Regions from separate parts of the Homo sapiens genome. Here region 2 is linked to region 1. The links are contacts of gene promoters, found by promoter capture Hi-C in human tissues and cell types (Jung and others, 2019). All regions are on one chromosome and are shown on one strand. Each heading gives the region's core, a stretch centred on a gene start or on the middle of the fragment in contact. The rest is flanking DNA. Distances are from core to core; before and after follow the strand shown. Region 1 holds the start of SH3GL2 (SH3 domain containing GRB2 like 2, endophilin A1). Region 2 has its middle 53 kb from the start of SH3GL2.

What was found. Contacts are between HindIII fragments. The study calls those that stand out against the background at their distance.
Region 2: a fragment that was not itself captured here is called in contact with the fragment with the promoter of SH3GL2 in region 1 in 2 of the 25 tissues and cell types used here (H1 embryonic stem cells and mesendoderm cells).

What each region holds. Positions count from the first base shown.
Region 1 is chr9:17,577,632-17,580,524 of GRCh38, forward strand. SH3GL2 (SH3 domain containing GRB2 like 2, endophilin A1) reads left to right here and starts at 1,435. Exons shown (of 9, transcript NM_003026.5): 1 at 1,435-1,656. The coding sequence starts at 1,612. RefSeq lists a silencer at 247-445. The HindIII fragment of the contact is 4,711 bases long and covers 1-2,893 here.
Region 2 is chr9:17,525,038-17,527,856 of GRCh38, forward strand. It overlaps a transcript of CNTLN not described here. Among named protein-coding and RNA genes, the nearest start is that of SH3GL2, 53 kb to the right of the region's middle. The HindIII fragment of the contact is 5,119 bases long and covers 1-2,819 here.

The DNA of each region.
Region 1 (2,893 bases), core at 185-2,684:
CCGAGGAAAAGAAAGCTTTGCGGCATCTCATACATCTCATATTGCTGCTGCAGAAGTGACAGTCACTTTTCCTCTTAAACCTCTAGTCAAAACTTGTAACCATGCCTCCACTTAACAAGAGGTTTGGAAAGTGCAATTCTGCCATGTAGGGAAAGGTATATGAACAGTGGTAAGGGCTACCACACTGGAGAATAGCTCCTTTCATCTGCCTCCCTTTGCAGCCTGCGTCCCTAGTCCATGCGCTCTACTGCTCCAGTGCCCACCACTGCTTGACTCTGCCTTTGTGTGTGTCAGTTCACATTATCAAGAAGGACCATGACTGGTAGCTCTACGGATGGAGGACCCTTTTGTAGCAGGTGTTCACCCTGTGCCCAAGCCGCAGTGCCTAGAAGAGTGGGGATGGGTCTGTGGCTCCTATCAGGCTGCAGGAGTTGCGGAGACAGAAAAAGTATTTCTAGGACTCCCATTTGGCCTTGCAGTCTCTACACATCCTTGGCAATTTCTCCCATCTTGGCTTCTCCTTCTTATCACTTTGGTCCACATACGGGGACAGCGTCTAAGTTCTTTCTGACCACCTCCTCAGTCCTAGAAAAACCAGACTTGGTTAAGTACCAGAGCACAGAAGGCATTTAGTGCTGCTCTGCTCCCAAGTCATCTATTAGTTTCACTTTAGCCAGCCATACCTCCTTGGTTACATATGAAGCATCTGTATATAACTTAGTATCATGCTTTTTCACATTATATTTTGATTTTTATCGGACCGGAAACCCTAAATCCACAAGCATAACAACAAGATCACATTTGGGCTTTTTCATTTCTGTAACCAGAGGATTGAACGCTAGTTTTGTAGTAAGACTTCAATTCTATTTATCCGTCCAGGCTTAAGGGTTCCTGTTCTTCTTTTTAAGTCATTAAATTGTATCAGACAAGGGGGAAAACGCGTGTGTGACTTTCCCTAAGGTAAGATGGGCTTAAGGGATATTGAAACCAGGGCAGAGAAATGTTTTCTGTGACCCACCAGTCAGGGCAAGGCATAGAAGGAGCAATGACTTATTCATTAGCCCAGATAGAAGGCCAGTCTTTTTCAGGCTGCGGCGCAGAGACGCCAGGCTCAAAGGGCAGGAGGGCCGTCTGCAGGCAGCGCCGCCGCGGCTACCTGGAAGCCCAGCAAGTCACCTGAGTCCTGCGGGTGCCTGGGCTGCCAATCTGCAGCGACCCGTCCGCAGCCCCCGGGGGCAGGAACACCAACCCCGGGACAGGAGGACGTCCTCGGCCCGCTGACTAGGGATCCGCCAGCGGGTGCCGCTGAGCCACATCCCCGCAGTTGGCGCCAGCATCCAGGTACCGCGCGCCACAGCACCTGCCTGGGCGTTCCCGCGCTTGGGGCGGGGCTTCCCGCGTCCCCTTTAAGAGGCCGCATCACCCGCCCTTGACGTCAGAGTGTTTCTCCGCAAGAGCCCGTGTCCCGCTAGGCTCCGCGCCCTCGCGCCCATAGCCCCGGCGGCGGCACGACCAGAGGCGGCCAGGGGAGCGCGCCGCCCCGCTCGGCCCTCCAGTCCCCCTCCGCCTCCTCCCTCCCGCACAGCAGCCGCCAGCGCGGCCTCCTGCACCATGTCGGTGGCCGGCCTCAAGAAGCAGTTCCATAAAGCCACTCAGGTAAGGCGCGCGGCAGGTGCGTCCCGGGGCAGTCCGGGGCGAAGCTGCGAGGGGCGCGCTCGGCGCTGGCCGTCCGGCGGCAGCTTGGGGAGTTCGGCACCGAGCCTCGCCCGCGCCGGCCGCGCCCCGCCTCGCAAGCCAAGGCGGCGGCTCGGGGCATCCCCGGTCTGGGCGTCCACCCTCGGTCCCCCGCCCCCGGCTTGGTGCGCGCTGCCTTCCCGCGGGTCCCCGGCGTCCTGCCTGGTAGCGCTGCTCGCCGCCCCCGCATCATCTCGCGCCCGTGCTGCAGGAAGGGGACCGCGGCTGCACTGCTGCCGCGGCGCGCAGGTGCCTTGGCGGCGCGGTGGGAGATTATGTAAAGTCGCCTCTTCACGGGTGACCTTGCGGAGTCGGTGCACCCGGCTTTCCCGGGATGTGTTGGCATGAGCGGTGGCCGCACTGGGGGTGGCGGGGCGGAGGCCGGCGGTTTGCGCTCCTCTCCCTTACCCTGTTGTCAGAACCCTCCTTCCCCGCCGCCCGCAGGCTCCAGGGGAATGGAAGGCTGGGGTCTTCCTTTAGGGACCCGCATACATTAACTTTTACCTGGAGAACTCGGTCGTGAAACTCCTTTGAGGCCAGGGCATGACAAACAGTCTGCGGGTCTTAAATATTTCCCTAAAACAACCAAATTGTTGAAGACTTAAAATCATCATGTATTTTAAATTGTTTTTAATAAATCTTTGGCATCTTGGATGTGCCCATTTTTCTTTATGGGGTTAATAAGCTGTGACTGTAATAAAACTGATTAATTTAGATTCTAATAATTAAAATCATTGGACTCAAAGAATTTTACATAGGGGCAAGTAAGCGAATACTTACGCTGTGACCTATTTCTTACATAATGTGTGTGATTACTACTTTTTTATCCTTCTGAAATAGGTTCAAATTTATGGGATCTTTAAGGATTTTGATGACTTACCGCGAAATGTTTTTCATGATTTGGTGTTAAATAGTTTTTCATAGGTTAGCCTTAATTAACGAGCTTTCTCATAATTTCTCGGAAGTAGTGAGGTTTTTCCTAGGCTACCACAGTGGCAGCCTTGTTATGAACCACATCCAGAAAAGGTGAGGGTTGTGTTTTACAGAACCTTGGTTAACTTAGGGTGACAGATGCAGCATGTAATTCCCGTCGTGTGTGTGTTTGCACGCATCTGCATCATCTTCATCACACATTCTTGCCTTTATAGAATCAATTATA
Region 2 (2,819 bases), core at 102-2,601, 53 kb before region 1:
CATACACAATAACATAGACATTGTTGGACATTTTACTAATTTGTTTCATTTCATAAAGAACCCTATATGGAAAATGAGGCTCAGCTGCTAACTTGCCCAACATCCCTCAGCCAAAACATTACCCAAACCATAAAAATGACCAAAATATCCCTCCATCCTGATTAATATGCGTGACTATTGTAAACTTTAAAACTTAACTGATAAAAAAAAAACCTTTCAGTCATTTTTGAGGTACTGCAGGAATATTAAGTACATATAAACAGTAAATATTTTCTAAAAGAAAGGTAAAGTCACTAAATTATGTTTCTTTTTATGGGTACTGGAAAGTGTTTTTATATAATAACTTGTTTTTATAGCTATGAGATAGAAAAGATTTTAACTTCAAAATAAAAGGGAATATTGGCATGATTCAGAGTTTTTAAAAACTGGTTTACCATATAAAAATGTTGTTAGCATAACATTTTGATTTGTTCAAGACCAGTGTTATTTCTTATAATTCAAACTTTCCTACATTGGTTTGCGAGTTAAATGATCTACGTATGTTTCTGTAGCTTGTTTAAAATTAAAAATTACATATGTAATTGTATTCAACTAAATAGAATGATAATAAATATCCTTTTAAAAGACCTAATTTTATGAAAATGTATAATACTGTAAATAAAAAATATGTTAGCTAATTTGAAATTACCAGATCCTTCACTAAATTTAAGGTCATAGAGAAATGACTGAATTCATTATGAAAAGATCTTTGAAGGCCTAAACAATTACTAAACAACTTTTTAAAGACATACAAAACACTGGTTATGAAACATGATTTGACTCATTTCTTAAAATAACAATACATTAACAAAGCATACAAATGTCTTTGGACATTTTTATTTTTATTTATTTTTCTATTTCTATTTTTATTTTTTTTGAGACAGAGTCTTGCTCTGTCGCCCAGGCTGGAGTGCAGTGGCGCAATCTCGGCTCACTGCAAGCTCCGCCTCCCGGGTTCACGCCATTCTCCTGCCTCAGCCTCCTGAGTAGCTGAGACTACAGGTGCCCACCACCACACCCAGCTAATTTTTTGTATTTTTAGTAGAGACGGGATTTCACCATGTTATCCAGGATGGTCTCGATCTCCTGACCTTGTGATCCACCCACCTCGGCCTCCCAAAGTGCTGGGATTACAGGCGTGAGCCACCGTGCCCGGCCTGGACATTTTTGTATACATCATTTCCCTACTCAAAATAGCCAAAATGATTTGAAATAAGTGCTCATAGAGCAATAAATAAAATTAATTAGGTATGTCTAAAATTCTCTAAACTGTAATTAAGTAAATTACTATAAGAGACTTTGTCTACCAGACTTAGTACAAAAAAACTGACAAATTATAAAGTTTAACTTCTTTTGATAAATAAGTTGAATATGCTAACGTAAATATCTTTCAATTACTGAATACTTCCAAGTTAAAAGGAACATCTCATGCTAAACATCTCAGGGCACAAAGATTGATAAGACTGATACAATAAGTGTGCACCAAAATATTTTCCAGAATTCTAAATTCACAAATATTTTTCTCTTTTACTCATAAAGGGTCTGGACATACTGTAATGGGAATCATTTGAAACCTATTGCTTCTTTCACTCTTTCATTAGCCCCAATAGCCAAGTCATACGTATATTCTCTAAGAGCTTTAAGAACAATAGTAAAACATGTAAAAAAATTAATTAATTTAGCTCTAGAGTTTCCACTAAATAATGATTATCATGCTTTACAAACTCTTTAACAAAAATGCTTACAATTTTTCAGTTAAGTCACCTAATCTCTCTTTTTTTTTTGAGGCGGAGTCTTGCTGTGTCACCCAGGCTGGATTTTGAGGCGGAGTCTCGCTGTCGCCCAGGCTGGAGTTCTGTTGTGCAATCTCAGCTCACTGCAACTTCCGCCTCCTGGGTCCAAGTGATTCTCCTGCCTCAGCTTCCCAAGTAGCTGGGATTATAGGCGTGCATCACCATGCTCAGCTAAGCTATTTTCTGTATTTTTAGTAGAGATGGGGTTTCACCATGTTGGCCGGGCTGGTCTTCAACTCCTGACCTCAAGTGATCCGCCTACCTCAGCCTCCCAAAGTCCTGGGATTACAGGTATGAGCCACCGTGCCCGGCCACCTAACTTCTTATAAAAAGCTTTCCCTTGACACATCACTGTCCATTACTGTGACACTCCAAATTCAGCCACCCGCCCTCCTTTACCTGAAAAAGAAAGAAATCCCATTGTTCATACCCTGCACAGCCTTTCTACTGATTTGATTATCTTTGTTAATTCTCCATATTTAAAAAGAAAAACTAAAACTTTTCAAGCAGGCTATACTATCAGAGAATTAAATTTATCCTTAAATAGATAGAAGCTCTCACTGTGCTCTAGTTGATAAAGTTGTTTCCCATGGAGTACACACTGACAATTCTGATTCTGCGATGCATGTATACTGGGACGGAAGAATTCAGTACATTGATGGCAAATGGTGGGAGCTAGGATTCTTACTGGTGGAGTGGGTACTTACAGATAAGCAAGGGGAGGAGAGGAGAGTGATGTGTGTGGTAAAGAATTAGAGTTGGCAATATCAGCATGAACTCAGCTGAGACAGCCTGGAGGTAAAGGCACTGGAGTAGCAACAAGCACACCTAGCACTCAGATTTTGGTTTCCAATAAGAGGAACCAGGGCTCTTGGGAGAAATGGCTGATTCTGGAATTGGGGCAGGAAATATACAAGATGAGCCTGGAGTGTTGTGTAGTGCCAGAAGGTAAGACAGTGCTCAAAGAAAAACAAAACACAACAGAAA